Linked DNA regions of Homo sapiens: region 2 is linked to region 1. Evidence: promoter capture Hi-C in human tissues and cell types (Jung and others, 2019). All regions are on one chromosome and are shown on one strand. The core of a region is centred on a gene start or on the middle of the fragment in contact, and the rest is flanking DNA. Distances in the headings are between cores, read along the strand shown.

Region 1 (4,641 bases), core at 1-2,500:
TCTACCAGATGGAAAAGAACGTTGTAGTACCTAAGAAAATTAGGCCTTATCACCAAGAAGAAAGGGGGAATGCATGATGCAGAAGGGACCAGCCATCTCAATCAGATACTACACAGTCTAAATTCAAACATTTACAATATAATTAAATTGCATCAGCCCCAGTCACATCTTAGCCTTAGGAACTTCGATCATTGACTTGCAATCCCAGAAAGTCTGTTTTGAGGTCCTAGGCCACAGGAAGAACCAATTTGTTTTATAGACATCTTACAGAGACAGCATTCACAGTTTATCTAGAGTCTGGCCTCAGAGAATATGTACTCCACTGGCAGCAGGAGAAACAAATACACAGGAAAATACAGTGTAGCACAGAACAGGAGCTGAGGGTGAATGGAGATGCTCAGAAACACCTGCACTAAAAATTTGCTGAAAAAGGTAAAACGTGTCAAGCAGCACTGCCTCTGGAAGCCAGAAAAATTACATTTTTTGATAACAGATCCTAAGCCTGGATGCTGGAGGTGCTTAAAAATGTGCATTGTGGGCCGGGTGCAGTGGCTTAAGCCTGTAATCCTAGCACTTTGGGATCTGAGGAGGGAGGATCACTTGAGCTCAGGAGTTTGAGACCAGCCTGGCCAATATGGCAAAACCCTGTCTCTACTAAAAATACAAAAAGTAGCCGGGCATGGGGCGAGCACCTGTAATCCCAGTTATTCAGGAGCTGAGGCAGGAAAATCACTTGAACCTGGGAGGCGAAGGTTGCAGTGAGCCAAGATCCTGCAACTGCACTCCAACCTGGGTGACAGAGTGAAACTCCGTTTCAAAAAAAAAGTGCATTGTGTCTGGTTTTCTTTCCATTCATACGTTTATTTGACTCTGTAGTAAAATCTCCTCCTCCTCCATGTACCCATATTCATGCAAGCAAATGTTAGCAAACTGCCACAGTAGCATTTTAATTAGTGCTCATCTTTCTCTCTTCACCACATTAAAATCTTTTCCCATTGTGTTCTGCTGATATTTCTATTATGATAAAAGACTTAAGACAAGTGACTATATAGAAATACGTATATACACACAAGAATGAAAGAGATAAACAGTAAGGGAGGTAGGGCAGGAATTTTTCTTCAACGTGTACAATTCAATGTACTTTCAGTTTTCATTTCAGCCTTCCTCAGTGGTTTCTGCCCAGCAACTGATGAGAAACATCACCTCTGAGCCAATCAAAAAACTTATTCTTCCAAAGAGAGATTGTTATTATTCCTCACGATGACCCGACAGTCTCTGCTTTCTTTTTCCTTTCTTCCAGAAGGAGATTTAACCATAGTAGAAAGAATGGAGAACTATTAACTGCCTTTCTTCTGTGGGCTGTGATTTTCAGAGGGGAATGCTAAGAGGTGAGTGGGGGAAGTCGATTAGAGCCTGGTTCACAATGCCTGGGAGGACAGGGGCTGAATCGCTGAGAGTGGTGAGTGGGCATGCAGGGAGAGTACTCACCCAGAGAAAGGGGTGTGTGCCTGAGGGGGTGCGCACGCACACATGTGGACACATGGAAAGGGGAGAAGTAGTGCAAAGAATAAAGACCTGCAGAGTTTGGGATTTGGTGAAGAAATAGTCTAATTGCATGTTCTTAAGAACGTATTGTAGTCAGAAAAGGGCAAACAATCTTTAAAATCTGTTCTGGACAACTCAAGGCATCTATTCTAAGAGATTCTAAAAAGAGGTGTCCTTTATAGATTCATATGTAAATTTGTTCATTACAGAAGTATTAAAAATGTAGAAAAACCTGAACCAGCATACATATACAACAGGCGGGGGATAGACAAACAATGCATGGTTCAATCATAAAAGAGATTTCCATGCAGCCTTTAGGAATCGTGTTTTTAATGAAGGGCAATTATTTATAATTTTAGCAATGTTAGATCCATACATTAAACCTTGTTTTAAAATCTTTTAGGAACAGTATGTGTTTTTCCTTTTATTCATCATTTCCCCCAAACCTAACGAATGCTATCCAATGGATACAATCTATTTCATTGTATGAATATACAATTTTTTTGTTTGTTTTGAGATGCAGTCTTGCTCTATCACCCAGGCTGGAGTGCAGTGGCATGTTCTCGGCTTACTGCAGCCTCTGCTTCCTGGGTTCCAGTGATTCTCCTGCCTCAGTCTCCTGGGTAGCTGAGATTACAGGTGCACGCCACCACACCCAGCTAGTTTTTGTATTTTTAGTAGATTCGGAGTTTCGCCATATTGTCTAGGCTGGTCTCAAACTCCTGACCTCAGGTGATCTGCCCACCTCAGCCTCCCAAAGAGCTGGGATTACAGGCGTGAGCCACCACACCCAGCCTTTAAAATTATTTTTAAACACTTCCCTAGTTTGGACTATTTCTCTTTTCTGCATTTGGCTATTGTAGATTTTACTGTATTGAGCAGCCTAAAACATAAATTTTTGTCTTAGTTCCTGATTTTCTTTTTTCTGCAACACTAATTCCTACAAGTGGAACATTTGGGTCAAAGCACACACCTTTTTTTTTTCTTTTAATAGCCATTCCTTAGCAAAGCATATAACTTTTTTTAAGGCCCTTTATATATATATGGTCAAAATACTTCCAGAAATATTTACCTTTTCACTACCAAAGTATATGACTACTACTATAGATATTTTATTTTATTTATTGATTGATTTGTAGAGATGGGGTTTCATTATGTTGACCAGGCTGGTCTTGAATTCCTGGGCTCCAGGGATCCTCCCATCTCAACTTCCCAAATTGCAAGGATTACAGGCATGAACCACTACTTAAACTTGTATTCCTTTATGCTTTTTTTCATTTGCAATATTGACTATAATCAGGAAAAAAAATATATCCTTTATGAAGAAGAAAAACTTATGTCTCATTCTAAGGACAGCAGAGAAATTGTTAACTCAGGGAAAATGATAATAAAAATGATACCCCCTCTATAGCAACATAAAGAGCAGTTTCGAGGAGCAAAAGATGTGGTGAAATGCATTGTTTACTCTGGGTGGGTGCAAGATCCAGGCAGGGGTGAAGCATGGCCGGCTGCACAGATCTCTGTTCTCTTGTTTCCTTTACATCCCTCCCCACCTCCCTCTGCAGATCTTGTTCTCAGAGGCCATTCCCAGACCCACAGCAAGAGGGATTATGGCTGCAGGCCTCATGCTCCTTTGTTTTGGAAGAAACTGTTGAGGAGTTAGTATTTACTGAGCAGCTAATATGTTCCCGTCACTATTGTAACTCATAATAATTATTGTTAAGTAATACACGAAAAGTTTTAAATTTAAAGCATTCCAATATTTTAAAAGTAAAGGGAACAAAAGGCCAAGTGTCCCTTCACTCACTAACCTCTGATCTTCAGATTAGCATGCGTCTTTTTTGAGTTTTTCAGGCATTTACATAAATAGTTATGCAGAAATGGATAGCTTTGCTTCTGTTCTTCAATTGAATCTTTAGTATAGTTGTGCAAGGTGTTTTTTGATCACTTAGTGTGTCTCCGTTATCTAGGTTCATGACAACAAATCAACTCTTTTTACCTGCTGCATTGAATTCCCTCCGAGGGATGAGCCGTCATTCCTCTAAGCAGTCTCCTGATGGGTGGCTGGTTCAGTTGGTTACCATTTTTATACTTTAAAAATAGTGCTGCAGTGTCATTCTCACAGAGGCTTCTGTCTGCACCCATGCAAGTACTTTGCTCGACTTGACATCAGGAAGTGGAACTGCTGGGCCAACTGTGCAATTCTAAATTTCACACTTCATGATATTGTATAAGTAAATAAAGTTGCAATGGTTTTGTCCCATGTCTGAGACCAAAGAGCTTGTGAATCTTAGAGCCTTTACTTATTGCTTACCCTCTTTGTGTCCCTAACCCTTATATCATGGGCCTGGCCCCTTGTGGGTGCTTGGTAAATATTTGTTGAATGACTTTATGAAGGGAAGAAAGAAAAGGTAAGTAAGGCCTGGTCTTATTTGCAGCTCTGTGATCACTAGCCTTGGATTAAATGTGGTGGGTTCAGCCCCTGACTGACTTCAGGTCCCCCACCAAGCAGTCTTCCTTAATCCTACCAGGAGTCCACTAGGCCATGAGTTGACCATGGTGATGGCCAAGAGTTGGGGCTTTGAGGAGTCCACAGTGTGGGACACCCACAGCGGTCGACCCCGGTGGAACCAGGGAGCCCAGTGAAGAGTGTCCTGCATGAATCAGAGGGGGATTGTGGTGGGTTGGACTTGGCAGGGGAAGTTTGGGGAAGTCATAGGATTCTGAATATTGTTAAACAGTACAGTGAGGATTTTCTGATCGAATAACAGATGTGCATTTCACATAGACATGTTTTTACAGGTGATTTTCAATGTTGGGACTCAAAGGTGAAGACACTGAAGGACAGAATTTTTGGCAGAGGAAAGATCTTCTTCGGTCACCATACTTGAGTTAGCTCTAGGGAAGTGGAGGTTTCCATTTGGAATTCTATAGCTTCTTCCAGGTCATAGTGTCTGCCCCCCACCTTCCAGTATCTCCTGATATGCAGCATGAATGAAAATGGCAAGTTTCCTGGCCTTCCTTCTGCTCAACTTTCGTGTCTGCCTCCTTTTGCTTCAGCTGCTCATGCCTCACTCAGGTAGGGAACAATTCCAC
Region 2 (4,641 bases), core at 1,230-3,729, 150 kb after region 1:
TTAGTATTCATCCTGGTTATCAGATCGAAAAAACATAGTATACTATGGTACTATCCGAGGTTTCAGGCATTCACTGTGTGTCTTGGAACATATCTCCTGCTGATAAGGAAAGAATACTGTACGTATTGGGTTAAAAATGAAGAAATGGAAATAAAAAAGGAGAAATACAGCGACACCTGAACAGGGACTTGAAACCTGGTTCCTCAGATTAAAAGTCCATGGCCATACTGACTGAGCTACCAAGCTTCATACAAAATGTCCAAACTGCATCAACCCTGGTTTATTAATCTATGTATCTGACCTAGAAGGTGATTTTAGAAGGTTCAGCTGCGATTTTAATAAGGACCTGGTAATTTAGAAATTCTTGCTAATAACAGCACAGAAGCTCAGCCATAACGAGGGTCCGTTTTAAGACCGAGGTCTAACCATATTACAAATCCATACTAACATCCCCCCAAAATTCTATCTATCTATCTATCTATCTATCTATCTATCTATCTATCATCTATCTATCTATCTACCCACCTACCCATCTACCTATCTTTCTACACGCATATATATGTATTCATATAATCCAGTCCAGTCAAGGACTAACAGAATGCTCGCCTTCAGTTCCTAGGCTTCCCAGATAAATATCTCAAATCCTCTCTCTAAACTTGGGCCCAAACAAAACATTTTCAAAAGTAACCTGATCTGACGCTGGTGCACATAAAGGGGAGTAATTGAATCACCTTTTCGGCGACGGACTTAGGGAAGCTGTTGTGAGACGAAAGATAGAGAAAACTGATTTAGCAGTTCTTGGTTTCACCTGCCTTGGTTTTCCTTAAAAAAGGAAAAATAAATTAAAGAAGTTTGTGAAGAAGCGTCCTCACTCTCCTTTTTCTTGTCAGATTTCCAGGTAGTTGTCAATAGTTCTATCCCTGGGTCAGTAGGTTAAGTATTTGACAAGCATGTCTGATGGCTGGAAGGTTTTCCACACTTTGAAAACTGATGGATGCTGCCCCATTAACCATTTCAGGATTTTGTTCGACAAATAAAAGAGAATTTAGTTTCAGCAGTCCGCAAATCTTAGAATTTTGGGGACAGAGATGGGGACGGGGACAGATATGGGAGGACGGAGACGGCGGGGCGGTGGGGTGGTAGCAGAAATCTTTCACAAACAACTAGGGAGAGCTACAAAGAACGGTTTCTTAGGGTAGGGGATGTAGCTCAGTGGTAGAGCGCATGCTTCGCATGTATGAGGTCCCGGGTTCGATCCCCGGCATCTCCAAGTTGTTTTATCCTATCTGCCCAATACTATTAGAAACTATATTTCAAAATGTGAAATAATTGTGTTTTGTATCCTCCACTTCTTTAACTTTTTATGGCTTTCTTTTAGCCACTGTATGTAGAATTGTATATGGAGCACGGGGAACAAGATTGCTTTGAAGTATTTTGAACTATCTATGTGAAACAAATGGAATTGAGAACACAGAAAAACATGCCCAATGGGGAGATGACAGAAGAGGAGCAACCTGGAAAGTTGCCCGGAACCCATTAATGAGCCCTATTTGTGGTATATGGTTTGCCTTTAGGGCAGAAATAATCTTGGCTTGAGAACATGGAAAGGGGAGGGAAGACGGGCTATTGTTAGTCCTGTGAGTCATAGGATGATAAAAATAGGACAAATATCGAAAGAAGGATGAATCTCAGCTCAGCACGGGCGAATTTGGCTGCTCTAGTGCACCGGTCTCCCGTAGGGGAATAACAAAAATGAAAACATTCCGAAACACTGATGAAATTCTTGATGCAGTTTTTAAAACTTCTTGGAGACAGGTGGCCGGTTAGCTCAGTTGGTTAGAGCGTGGTGCTAATAACGCCAAGGTCGCGGGTTCGATCCCCGTACGGGCCAACTTTGTTTTCTTCCATCACGTAACTTACGGCCAAAGACAAGGAAAAATCAATTGTCTGAGGACTGTTACTACAAGAAAGACTGTGCTAACCTTTATAACTAACACTTTGCCAGAAGTCCAAACCTTTGTAGCAAGTCCAGAGGTCCTGTTTTCTTAAGTCATGGTGCTCAAAATGTTTGCTCATGAGAAGCAGAAAAGCAGTAGGATAGTTTAGGAGTTAGATTTAAATTCAATAGAGGGCAAAACAGTGCCACCAATTTGTTTAGTGCCCCAACACTGTCCTTGAAATAGTCTGAAAACAGATAAATCTTCAGATAATGAAATGTGGGGCAAGTGTGAGAAGGCAGTGTTCATTATCTCTGATTGCCCAATTAAGGATCCCTACTTGGGAAGATCAACACTCACACATCAAGACAGAAATTCCATTCCGAGAGAAACATTTTCTTGTTACTTTGATTTCCCAAGAAAGGACTATGCCCCTTTCCAAAATCTACCTTTTTCACATCAGCAACCTGGACCTGTTGGTCCAGGTTGGCCAACGCCGGGAATAACTGCTCAGTCCACATCTTGATGTTAAATATCCCCTGTTCCTTGTACAACTAATGCTCTCTGTTTATTTACGACCTCACAGCTGTATAGCCTGTTGAGTGATTTTTCAGGTGTTTTACTATTTTCTGTGGAAAATGCTGATCGCAACTCACGAGCTCCACGTGGGCTTTGTTAGCCCCACACCTGTGGGTGAGCTCTAGCGCTTGTCAAAAACGAAACTTACTGGGCCTCGCCTCCAGAGACTTTTACTCAGATTTGAGAAGGAACCCAGATTTCTGCGTTTTAAACAAACGCCACAGCTGTTTCTCAGAAAGGCTGTGTCAAGAGCCCTTTGAGATAACAGTCCTTAGGATTGGATTGAGGGAAAATTCGGAGAAATTCTGAGAGCCTCATTGACCTGATAATTTTTTTAACAAAATTAATTAAAGGTATTATCAGTTATAGTTGCATATAGCTACACGTACATTTAAAAAAAAAGAAATTTGGTAAATATTTAACGCATCTAAAATAATAAATGCTCAGGCGGCTCGTTGGTCTAGGGGTATGATTCTCGCTTAGGGTGCGAGAGGTCCCGGGTTCAAATCCCGGACGAGCCCTAGTTTTGTCCCTTGCTTCTGAATCTGGCTGCTTTCGCCCAACCTTAGTATATAAGTTAAAACTTGCCAGTTAGAAGCGCCGATAATTGTGGCATCGATATGCGTTAGAAACCAACAAGTGAGTTGCGATCTCTAGTTAAGGAGTTTTTTTTTGTTTTTGTTTTTTGTTTTTTTTTTTTTTTTGATTCTCTTTAGTCCGCTCTACAGACTTTTGCAAAGGCAAACGTTTCCGGATCTTCTAGAAGTTCCGACTCCACGATTGTGTTCATGTGAAATATGTTAGAAATAAAATGGTCACATCTTAATTCAATGCTATTTATTATTGATTCATTACATCAAAGGATGGATTTAAACGGGAAGATCAAGAGTCAAGGTGTTAGGAACCTTTGAGTTATTTAGACTTTCCTCGTTGCTACAGCGTCAAGTACTACTCTGTCACACAGATCACGGTTCTGCTTTCTTCTGAGAAGGAGCATTTTTTCTCTCCTCCTGGAGCGTACCATTGGTATACTCATTAAGTAGATTTTTTTTTTTAATCTGTTGTGCTGAATCTACTTTTGCGGTTGGCGGTAAACACAACATACAAAAATCACTGCATCCTATATTGTAGTGGTTGTCAGATACTTTATATTAAAATATAATTGCAACCCTGCCCCCTTTTCTACGTGTGCCTTGATTATGAAGGACAACAAATGAGCAAACATACGGGTCCCGCAAAGGTGGGAGAACACCGCAGACATTTTCTTGAGGGCCATATAGCTTGGCAGGAGGGGCAAGAATTGATGGGTTATGAGAACAAGAGAGGAACGCCTCACTGGGCCACAGAGAGGGTCCAGGAAATTGTTTGGGCTCGAGGACCTAAGGTCCTTGGGACTATGCTTGGAGCCACATTGGTAACCGGGTCTGGAGTTTTGGGAGTGCCAGTGCAGGGGTCACTCTGGTAAGCATCCAATGACACTGACTTTTAGGTCCTGGAAACATTTTGCGGCCTATCAACACAAATTGGTGAGAATGGGGAAAAGAGGGAAAATGTAGAGAAAGTGACTGGAATGCATGCTAATGATTCAGGTTACGTTTACGTCCTTTGAGTTTCATTTCATCTTACCTATAAAACCAACATAGACATTGAAATCTAGAATCCTAATCATACCAAAGAAATTATGTATTCTCTTAGTGTATTGGGGGAAGAGCTACGTTCGGGTGAGCCCGGCTAGCTCAGTCGGTAGAGCATGAGACTCTTAATCTCAGGGTCGTGGGTTCGAGCCCCACGTTGGGCGCTCTGGTTTTCAATCCTAAAATGTTTTCAGGTTTCTCATTGCGGTCCAAAAAAAGGGCATTATTAAAGCTCATCCCTCTGGAAGAAGGGAATTGTGTGATCATCGTGACCATTTTAGCCTTACTGACTTGACTGACGCATTCCAGCCTTCTCTGAAATTCTAGCTGAACTTAGTCTCAGTGATCCCTGGTGTGGATACACTTCTCTGGCCTAGAGGTTTTGTAAAACCAGATATACTTAAACATAGGTTATGTAAGTCGTTGGTAGGGCATGAGCTCTTGTATATTTAACAAGTTCCTGGGCTGATTCTAAAGCACAAATCCCAGCA

The links. The method cuts DNA at HindIII sites, captures the fragments that hold promoters and counts their contacts. A contact is called where the count stands out against the background at its distance.
Region 2: a contact is called between a fragment that was not itself captured here and the fragment with the promoter of BTN3A1 in region 1, in 1 of the 25 tissues and cell types used here (spleen).

Annotation. Positions count from the first base shown.
Region 1 is chr6:26,401,025-26,405,665 of GRCh38, forward strand. BTN3A1 (butyrophilin subfamily 3 member A1) reads left to right here and starts at 1,251. Exons shown (of 10, transcript NM_007048.6): 1 at 1,251-1,388; 2 at 4,348-4,624. The coding sequence starts at 4,540. RefSeq lists an enhancer at 1,159-1,218. The HindIII fragment of the contact is 20,018 bases long and covers 1-4,641 here.
Region 2 is chr6:26,552,305-26,556,945 of GRCh38, forward strand. TRA-CGC1-1 (tRNA-Ala (anticodon CGC) 1-1) reads left to right here and starts at 1,199; the gene lies at 1,199-1,270. It overlaps TRI-AAT5-1 (tRNA-Ile (anticodon AAT) 5-1), which reads left to right and starts at 1,818; the gene lies at 1,818-1,891. It overlaps TRP-AGG2-2 (tRNA-Pro (anticodon AGG) 2-2), which reads left to right and starts at 2,966; the gene lies at 2,966-3,037. It overlaps TRK-CTT2-4 (tRNA-Lys (anticodon CTT) 2-4), which reads left to right and starts at 4,242; the gene lies at 4,242-4,314. RefSeq lists a cis regulatory region at 882-2,092 and silencers at 1,155-1,204, 1,795-1,884. The HindIII fragment of the contact is 6,659 bases long and covers 1-4,641 here.